Linked DNA regions of Homo sapiens: region 1 is linked to region 2. The links are contacts of gene promoters, found by promoter capture Hi-C in blood cells and fetal thymus (Javierre and others, 2016). All regions are on one chromosome and are shown on one strand. The core of a region is centred on a gene start or on the middle of the fragment in contact, and the rest is flanking DNA. Distances in the headings are between cores, read along the strand shown. Region 1 overlaps PPFIA3 (PPFI scaffold protein A3). Region 2 holds the start of PTH2 (parathyroid hormone 2).

Evidence for each region. Contacts are between HindIII fragments. The CHiCAGO score rates a contact against its expected background, and 5 or more counts as called.
Region 1: a contact is called between a fragment that was not itself captured here and the fragment with the promoter of PTH2 in region 2, in 1 of 17 cell types (total B cells). The highest score is 5.4, in total B cells.

Annotation. Positions count from the first base shown.
Region 1 is chr19:49,137,172-49,141,655 of GRCh38, forward strand. PPFIA3 (PPFI scaffold protein A3) reads left to right here. Exons shown (of 30, transcript NM_003660.4): 16 at 1,034-1,256; 17 at 2,497-2,660; 18 at 2,790-2,917; 19 at 4,249-4,342. Among named protein-coding and RNA genes, the nearest start is that of HRC, 16 kb to the right of the region's middle. RefSeq lists enhancers at 1-157, 4,481-4,484. The HindIII fragment of the contact is 8,599 bases long and covers 1-4,484 here.
Region 2 is chr19:49,421,072-49,425,395 of GRCh38, forward strand. PTH2 (parathyroid hormone 2) reads right to left here and starts at 2,370. Exons shown (of 2, transcript NM_178449.4): 1 at 2,141-2,370; 2 at 1,348-1,571. The coding sequence starts at 2,268. The coding sequence ends at 1,397. GFY (golgi associated olfactory signaling regulator) reads left to right here and starts at 4,317. Exons shown (of 4, transcript NM_001195256.2): 1 at 4,317-4,324. RefSeq lists a silencer at 2,486-2,689. The HindIII fragment of the contact is 6,183 bases long and covers 1-3,903 here.

The DNA of each region.
Region 1 (4,484 bases), core at 551-3,050, 280 kb before region 2:
GTTCCTCTTGATGCATCAAGAATCTTCCATTACGCCATCGATTTTGTGGTTTCACATAACCAGTGCCCAGAGTCTCCCACTACCCTAGGAATCTCAAGACAACACAAGGTTCCCAACCTCAAACACCAAGAATCTCATCCTAACATGCTAATCAAAAACTTCAACTCCAGGCTGGGCACAGTGGCTCACGCCTGTAATCCCAGCACTTTGGGAGGCTGAGGCCAGCGGATCATGAGGTCATGAGGTCAGGAGATAGAGACCATCCTGGCTAACATGGTGAAAACCTGTCTCTACTAAAAATGCAAAAAATTAGCCAGGCATGGTGGCAGGCGCCCGTAGTCCCAGCTACTCAGGAGGCTGAGGCAGGAGAATGGCATGAACCCGGGAGGCGGAGCTTGCAGTGAGCCGAGATAGTGCCATGCACTCCAGCCTGGGCTACAGAGCGAGACTCCGTGTCAAAAAAAAAAAAAAAAAAAAAAAAAAAAAAGTCCCCAACTTATTAAGAAGCCCCCAGTGATGTAAAGTCTACCCTGATTCACCAGCAATGGCCATATTCAGCAATTCTCTTATAATGTACTCCCCATGAGCCTTCGGCAAATATACCATGACCACCACTTTCCATACCAAATGAGTCCATGCCCTTCCCAGATCCTAGATTGGCCTGAGTCCCTGATCTCACAATGCTCCTATTATGACCTTGCTCTTACAGGCCACCTTGAACTTGACCTTTTGTCCATAGTAATCCCTTCATGATTTTCCAAACCCCTTGACTATCATCAGGGCCACCCTGATACAAACCCCAATCACCTTGATAGCCCTAATCCTGCAATGACTTCCTGAGACTCTCAGGACCCCTTGACTCTCCTTGAGCCTGGAAGGCCTTCAGAAACCCACCAAAGTCCTCTGACGTCATTGCACCGTCCCCAGAATTCCCATTGCCCCACCAGGCCTTTCTGGCCCATTGTGCTCCCAGATTCCCTCTCCCGCTGTCTGCTGCGGCCCCTCACCCAGTTTCCCCTATTTCCCTCCTCAGGCTGATCCAAGAGGAGAAGGAGACAACAGAACAGAGGGCAGAGGAGCTGGAGAGTCGGGTGTCCAGCTCTGGCTTGGACTCGTTGGGCCGCTACCGCAGCAGCTGCTCCCTGCCCCCCTCCCTCACCACCTCTACCCTTGCCAGCCCCTCCCCTCCCAGCTCTGGCCACTCAACACCCCGCCTGGCACCCCCTAGCCCTGCCCGTGAGGGCACCGACAAGGCTGTGAGTGCTCTGAAGTCTCCCCAGCCTAGTAGGGGGATGGGGAGAGGTCAGAGGCAGGGCTCCCCAGTGTACAGCAACAATAACCCCTCACACCAGTGGTTTTCCAAAGCAACCTCAGCTTTCCCTAAAGGTTCAAACTCAAAGGGCAAAGGGGAGGCTGAGTCACTGGGATCTTGAACCCTAACTTTCACTTTAGTCAGATCTGGTCTACTTTTATTTCTCATGCGTCAAGTTTCTGCATAGGATTTTAAAAAGTTTCTGGCTGGGTGCGGTGGCTCACGCCTGTAATCCCAGCACTTCGGGAGGCCAAGGTGGGCAGATCACTTGAGGTCAGGAGTTCGAGACCCACCTGGCCAACATGGTGAAACCCCCACCTCTACTAAAAATACAAAAATTAGCCTGGCCTGGTGGCACGTGCCTGTAATTCCAGTTACTCGGGAGGCTGATGCAGGAGAATCAATTGAACCCAAGAGGCAGAGTTTGCAGTGAGTTGAAATTGTGCCACTGCACTCCAACCTGGGAGACAGAGTGAAACTGTGTCTCAAAAAAAAAAAAAGTTTCTGTGACAACATGCATTGGAGAACTACAAATTAGATCCTCAGAATTGACCTTTGAGGGAGACAAAGAGATATTGGCCCTATTTTACTCCCTTAAATTCAGCTTTCCTGCTTCCAGAACCTGTAACTCATTAGCTTTCTTTGAGGCCTGACCAACATGGTGAAACCCCATCTCTACTAAAAATACAAAATTATCCGTGTATGGTGGTGTGGGCCTGTAGTCCCAGCTTCTTGGGAGGCTGAGGCTAAAGAATCACTTAAACCCGGGAGGCAGAGGTTGCAGTGAGCTGAGATCATGCCACTGCACTCCAGCCTGGCGACAGAGCTAGACTCTGTCTCAAAAAAAAAAAAAAAATTACCCGGGCATGGTGGCACATGCCTTTAATCTCAGCTACTTGGGAGGCTGAGGCAGGAGAATCTCTTGAACCTGGGAGGCAGAGGTTGCAGTGAGCCGAGATTGTGCCATTGCACTCCAGCCTGGGCCACAAGAGTGAAACTCCATCTCAAAAAAAAAAAAAAAAAAAAGTTTCTGCAACTCACCCTGACTTGAGCTAGACTACCTTCGTATACTGTGTTCTAAACCAGGGTCACCCCACACACACCTTAGTAGACATCTCAGTTAATAAGGAGCCCCCGACATGACTCTTTGAACTCAATCCAGCATCTGTGCCCTCTGTCCTCAGAATCATGTCCCTAAGGAGGAAGCTGGAGCTCCACGAGGGGAGGGGCCGGCCATCCCAGGAGACACCCCACCACCCACTCCCCGCTCTGCCCGTCTTGAGAGAATGACCCAGGCCTTGGCACTGCAGGCGGGGTCCCTGGAAGATGGGGGACCCCCACGGGGAAGGTCAGCAGGGACAAGGGATAGGGACAGGGAGAAGCTGGCTTGGGAAGATGAGAAGGGGGTGGACAAGGACTTGGGAGGAGAGGGGGCATCTCAGCAAGCATATGCTCTCATTCTCTCCTGCTTTCCCAGTGAGGGCACCCCAGATTCTCTGCACAAAGCCCCCAAGAAGAAGAGCATCAAGTCATCCATAGGCCGTCTCTTTGGCAAGAAAGAGAAGGGACGAATGGGACCCCCAGGCCGGGACAGCTCTTCTCTGGGTGAGTACCTCACTCTAACCCTTCCCTCCTTTGTTCCTTCCTCCCTTCCTCCCTCCCTTTCTTTCTTCTTTGTATGTTCATTTGACATCCATTCATGTCTTCATTCATTTGGTGATTTATTTAGAATTTGGAAGGAACACAGCTTGCCAAGGTAGGCGGGAGGAGGAGGGAAAAGGAAAGGGCACTCTGGGACCTGCTTGGGTGACTGGGTAGGTAAAGGAATTTATTTCCTTTACTTATTTTTTTGTTGTTTTTTGGTTTTTGTTGTTGTTGTTTTGAGATGGAGTTTCACTCTGTCACCCAGGCTGGAGTGCAGTGGCAACGATCTTGGCTCACTGGAACCTCTACCTCCTGGGTTCAAGCGATTCTCCTGCCTCGGCCTCTTGAGCAGCTGGGACTATAGGCGCCCGCCACTATGCCTGGCTAATTTTTTTGTATTTTTAGTAGAGATAGGGTTTCCTCATGTTGGCCAGGCTGGTCTTGAACTCCTGACCTCAGATGATCCACCCACCTCGGCCTCCCAAAGTGCTGGGATTACAGACTCATTTACCTTTTTTTTTTTTTTTTTTTTTTTTTTTTGTTTGGAGACGGAGTCTTGCTCTGTCGCCCAGGCTGGAGTGCAGTGGTGCTATCTCGGCTCACTGCAAGCTCCGCCTCCCAGGTTCATGCCATTCTCCTGCCTCAGCCTCCCCAGTAGCTGGGACTACAGGCGCCCACCACCACGCCCGGCTAACTTTTTGTATTTTCAGTAGAGATGGGGTTTCACCGTGTTAGCCAGGATGGTCTTGATCTCCTGACCTTGTGATCTGCCTGCCTCAGCCTCCCAAAGTGCTGGGATTACAGGTGTGAGCCACCGTGCCCAGCCACCTATTTTTTAAACAGAGGAAGAGGGTGGGGCATCCTCAAAGCAGGGCACCTTCCTGTGGTGTGCTGGAGCCCGCTGGCACTGGCTCAGGAGATCCGCTATTTCAGGAATTGGCTGACATCACACTGGTAGCTTGAAATTGGCCATGGTGGGATTATTTACACCATGGAAATGGGCAAATGCTACAAATCAGGGATTCCCTTCTGCCTCCCCAAGGAGCCGGTTGTTAGGCATTTACCAGCATACAACTGCCACCTTACCAAGGGCATCCCAGTGCATCCAGCCGTATTTTGGGGATGACTCCAATTCATGGGCGCTTGTCTGCCTTTATCACTTCCTCGATGTGCCCTCACTCACTACTCCCTCAGGGCCTCTGCCTTTCCGGCATTTTCCTCATCACCTCCAGCATGAAAGATTCTGCCTCCCCCTTGAGATTTTCCAAATTTCGACCCCTCCCTGCCTCCAGCTGGAACACCCTCAGATGAGACACTGGCCACTGACCCTCTGGGGCTAGCCAAGCTGACAGGCCCAGGAGACAAGGACCGAAGGAACAAGAGGAAGTGAGTGTGTGTGAGTGTGAGCGTGTGTGTGTGTATGTGAATGTGAGAGTGTGTGAGGGTGTGTGTGTGCGTGTATGTGTGTGTATGAGTGTGTGTGTGTGTGAGAGGGTGTGTGAGTGTGTGTGTGCAGCGGTGGTGGTGG
Region 2 (4,324 bases), core at 1,120-3,619:
ATTCGGAAGGACAGAGGAAACAGTCCCGCCCCCACAGTCCAAGGGCCAATTAGGGCTCGGTCCGCCTCCCGAAAATGCAAATTTTGGGACGCCTTGCCAAACACGCGCGGCGGCCCCGCTTCCCGCGCAGCAGACGCGGCCGGCTCCACTCTCTTCTTTAAACCAATGAGAGCGCGGTCCGCACGAACGGCGCCCCAGGCGCGCTGATCTAGCCCTCTGCGGACCACCGGGTTGCCATGGTTACCACGAGGGGCGGAGCTGAAGGGCAGGCTGGACCTCCGGGGAGAGAGACAGATTTCGATTGGCTCTTTTCTCGCTTCACCTGCAGCCCAGGTATCTTCCCGCCCTTTCCCTGTCCTTTTTGGAGCCTGACGCCTGCTCCTTTCTCTTCTCCTGCCCCAGCCTGGCGCCCCGAAGGTCTCTAGAGAAGGAGACCCGAAGTCAGAAAACCCTGAAAAAAATTGCTGGACGCTGCTGTGAGAAGAGGAAACCCTTTTCAAATAAAAGCGTTTTGCTACGTAACGGGCGCTGTACTGAAGTCTTATGAAGTATATCTTATTGGATCCTCGTAACAGATGAAGAAAAGGAGACACAGAGACTGACGTCAAGAAGGCTTTCTCAGTACTACGCAGCTAGATTTGGAGGACCCTGGGTTTGGATGCTAGGGCTGCCTCACACCAGAGCCCGCGATCTTTCCACTGTGCCTGGGGAGAAGTCTGGAAGTGATGGGAGGGAGGAACAGCGAAATTCAAAGATGAGAGCTGATGGAGAGACAGATAGAAACCTAACGGAGGAAAGAAAAGGAAGATATGAAGGAGTCAGGCAGAGGAAAAAGGAAAAAAGAAAGTGATGGAGAAGGGAAGGAAGAGTTTCAGAGGCAGAAGGAGAATAGAGAGAGGAGGCAGAGATTCCCAGAAGACCAGAAAGCCAAAAGGGTGAAAGGGGAGATAACCACAAGGACCCAGGGAGACGGGGACACATACCCAGAGAGGAAAGAGACCCAGAGAAAGGGACAGAGACGGAGGAGGACAGAGACCTTGGAGATTACAGAGAACCAGAGAGAAGGGGACAGAGATGGGGGTAGGGAGGGACAGGGGCCCAGAATGAAAGGAGGGGGCGGGGGGGTGGGGGCGATAGGGAAGCAGAGATCCAGAAATAGGAAAGAAGCCAGCTTCCTGGACAAAGACAGGCAGAGAGAAACGGAATTGAGGAAAGAAAATAGAGTGGGGACTGAGGAGAGAGATGCCAGAGTGGCCGACACAGAGTCCTGTCTCTTTTCTACCCCCCATTTCAAGCCCCGCGCCCCCAACCCAACGCACACGCAGGTCGCGCAGGAACTAGGCGCAGTCCGGAGCGCAGGGCATGGTCTTTATTAAGATGGGGACGGGCAGCGCGCTCAGGGCGCATCCAACACCAGCAGCTTGTGCATGTACGAGTTCAGCCAGTGGCGGCGCTCGAGGGCGGCCAGCAACCGCGCGCGCTCCCGGAAGGCCGCGTCGTCCGCCAGCGCCAGGCTCCTCCGCGGCCTGGGGGTGGCGGGATCCGCCCAGGCCCGTCCTGGGGGGCGGAGGCTGTGGAGAGACGCGGTGACCGCGCGTCCAGACTCGCTCTTGCCGCCGCCTGTCCTCCCCGCGGTCTAACTCGAAGCCCCGTTACTGCCCAGTCCGTGGAGTGGCTCGGTCCGGCTCCCCCTGTCTCTCTCGTTCTCTGTGTGGGTCTCTGTCTCTCTGCTCACCAGGTTCGAAACTCCCCAGGTACTGAGACCGAGTCTGATGCACTTGTCCGCCCACAGCGCTCAGCGCATGGCCAGGCGCACACCAAGAACCCAATAAACGTTGCTCAAAGAATGAATCCGTTTCTGCAACGACTCCTTTCGAGCCTCTCCACGCCTTTCTCGGGATCTATCTTTCTGTGTCTCTTTCCCTTGCTGATTTTCTGTCCATTTCCCGCACCACCACTACCACCAAACCCTCCTCCCGCCTTCCCCCACCCCTAGTCTCTGTCTTCTCGCTGGGTCTCGGTCGCCCTCTCTTTGGGCTTCTGTTCCGCTTTCTGGATCTTCCGTCCCCTTTCTCTTTGGTTCTCTTCCCACTTCTCCAAGTTCCCACCCCTCCCTGGGAGTTCTGGGACTGGCACCTACCTGAGGACCCCGACCGGGGGCAGGGCGACTCCCGAGGCAGTGCGGACGCCCCAGGGCACCACCAGCAGCAGCAGCAGCAGCAGCAGCAGCCGAACCCGAGGGCTCCTGGACACCTGGCGGGTCTCCATCACCTGTGGAGAACCAGAAAGGGGCTCAGTAGGGCTGCATCCCGGCCCAGAACCCCGGGCCCCACCATGCATCCACCCCCAGCTTCCCGCACAGTCCCCTACCGTGCAGTGGGCTGGGGCAGCGATGGTGGCAGCCCCCTTATATCGCCTCCGCAGCCCCCGCACCGGGCAGTGACGCAGGCCGGGGGGCCGGGGACGCGGGGTCACCCCCTCCCCAGGCTCATTAGGAGCCGCCAGCGGTAATGAGGAGCCGGGGGTGGGGGACCTGCCGCTGCCTTGGCCGCCACCAACTAATTGGGACCAGAAGCTGGACCTGAGACGAGGGAGGGGGAGAGACAGACAGACAGAGAGGTGGACACAGGGGGTGTGTCAGAGGGCTAAAAATAGAGACTGGCGGAAGGACCGTCAGAGGAACAGAGACACAAAGAGAAGGACAAAGACAGAGTGGCCGAGGAAGAAATAGAGAGAAAGAATGGGAACGACAGAAAAAGAAAGGAAAAGGAAGAAAACAAGAAAAGAGAGCGAAGGAGATGGAAACGAACAGTCAGATGGAGATGGAGGAGGGAAAGAAAAGGCTCTCAGAAAGACAGACGGAAATGGAAGGACGTCCTGGTCTGGAAGGAGCTGCCCAGAGATAAATACAGCAGCGAGAGGCCCAGAAAGATCGAGGGTGAGGTAGGGAGGGGGGAAAGGCAAGAAATGGCAAAGGGTACGTGTGGCAGGGGTGTGAGGACAGGAAAAGTGACAGACCACATCAGAAAAACCTCAGAGAGTGAGAAGAGGGGAAAACAGACAGGGCTCCTGAGCTGCCCTAAGGATGTGTCTAAGCCCTTATCTGGGAGGAGTTTGGGGGTGCTGTGAAGATTAAAGCCCAGTCCTCCTCACACTGACTCTTTTTGTGTGTGTGTGTTTGTCTGTTTGAGATGGAGTCTTGCTCTTGTTGCCCAGGCTGGAGTGCAATGGCACTATCTCGGCTCACTGCAACCTCCACCTCCCAGGTTCAAGCCATTGTCCTGCCTCAGCCTCCCGAGTAGCTGGGATTACAGGTGCCCACCATCACGCCCAGCTAATTTTTGTATTTTTAGTAGAGATAGGGTTTCGCCAAACTGTTGGCCAGGCTGGTCTTGAACTCCTGACCTTGTGATCTGCCCTCCTTGGCCTCCCAGAGTGTTGGGATTACAGGCGTGAGCCAGCACACCCAGTCCACACTGACTCTTAAGAGGGGCCTCAGCCGGGTGCTGTGGCTCATGCCTGTAATCCCAGCACTTTGGAAGGCCGTGGTGGGTGGATCACTTGAGGTCAGGAGTTCGAGACCAGACTGGCCAACATGGCGAAACTCCTTCTCTACAAAAATACATAAATTAGGTGTGGTGTAATCCCAGCTACTTGGGAGGCTGAGGCAGGAAAATCGCTTGAACCTGGGAGAGGGAGGTTGCAGTGAGCTGAGATCGCACCACTGCACTCCAGCCTGGGCAACAGAGTGAGACTCTGTCTCAAAAAAAAAAAAAAATTTAAAAAGAGGGGCCTTTATACACAGTGAGGAGAAGATGGGCAAAACTTGGAAGTCCTACAGAGCAGTAGAAACTTGGGATGTGGGAACTTGGGCTCCTAGTTTCCTAGGAAGGTGGTGGCAGAAGCTTGGACTCCTGAGTCTAAGAGTGGATGGGACAGGGACCCAGATTCCTATGTTCTGGGGAAGGAGGAGGCTGGGGACTTGGATTCCTGAATCTGAGGAAGGAAGGAGCTAGAGGACTGGAGTTCTGAGTCTGGGGGGAGGGAGCTGGGGGATACAACTTAGGGGACTTGAAATAGGAAGGTACCAGGGAACTAGACCCCTGGGTTTTCAGGTAGGAGAGGGTAGAGGGCCAGGACCACTGGTTTCAAAAAAATAATTTGGGCCACATCTCCACTAGATCAATCCAGTTTCTAACTCCCTTCCCCACCCCAGAGAAAATGTCCTTTACTTCTGTCCCTTTAAGAGTCTAAGTCTGTCGCTAGGCTCCCAGGATCCCCTGGGAGGGGGTGAGGTGCGTCACCTGTGTGCCCCTGAGACCCT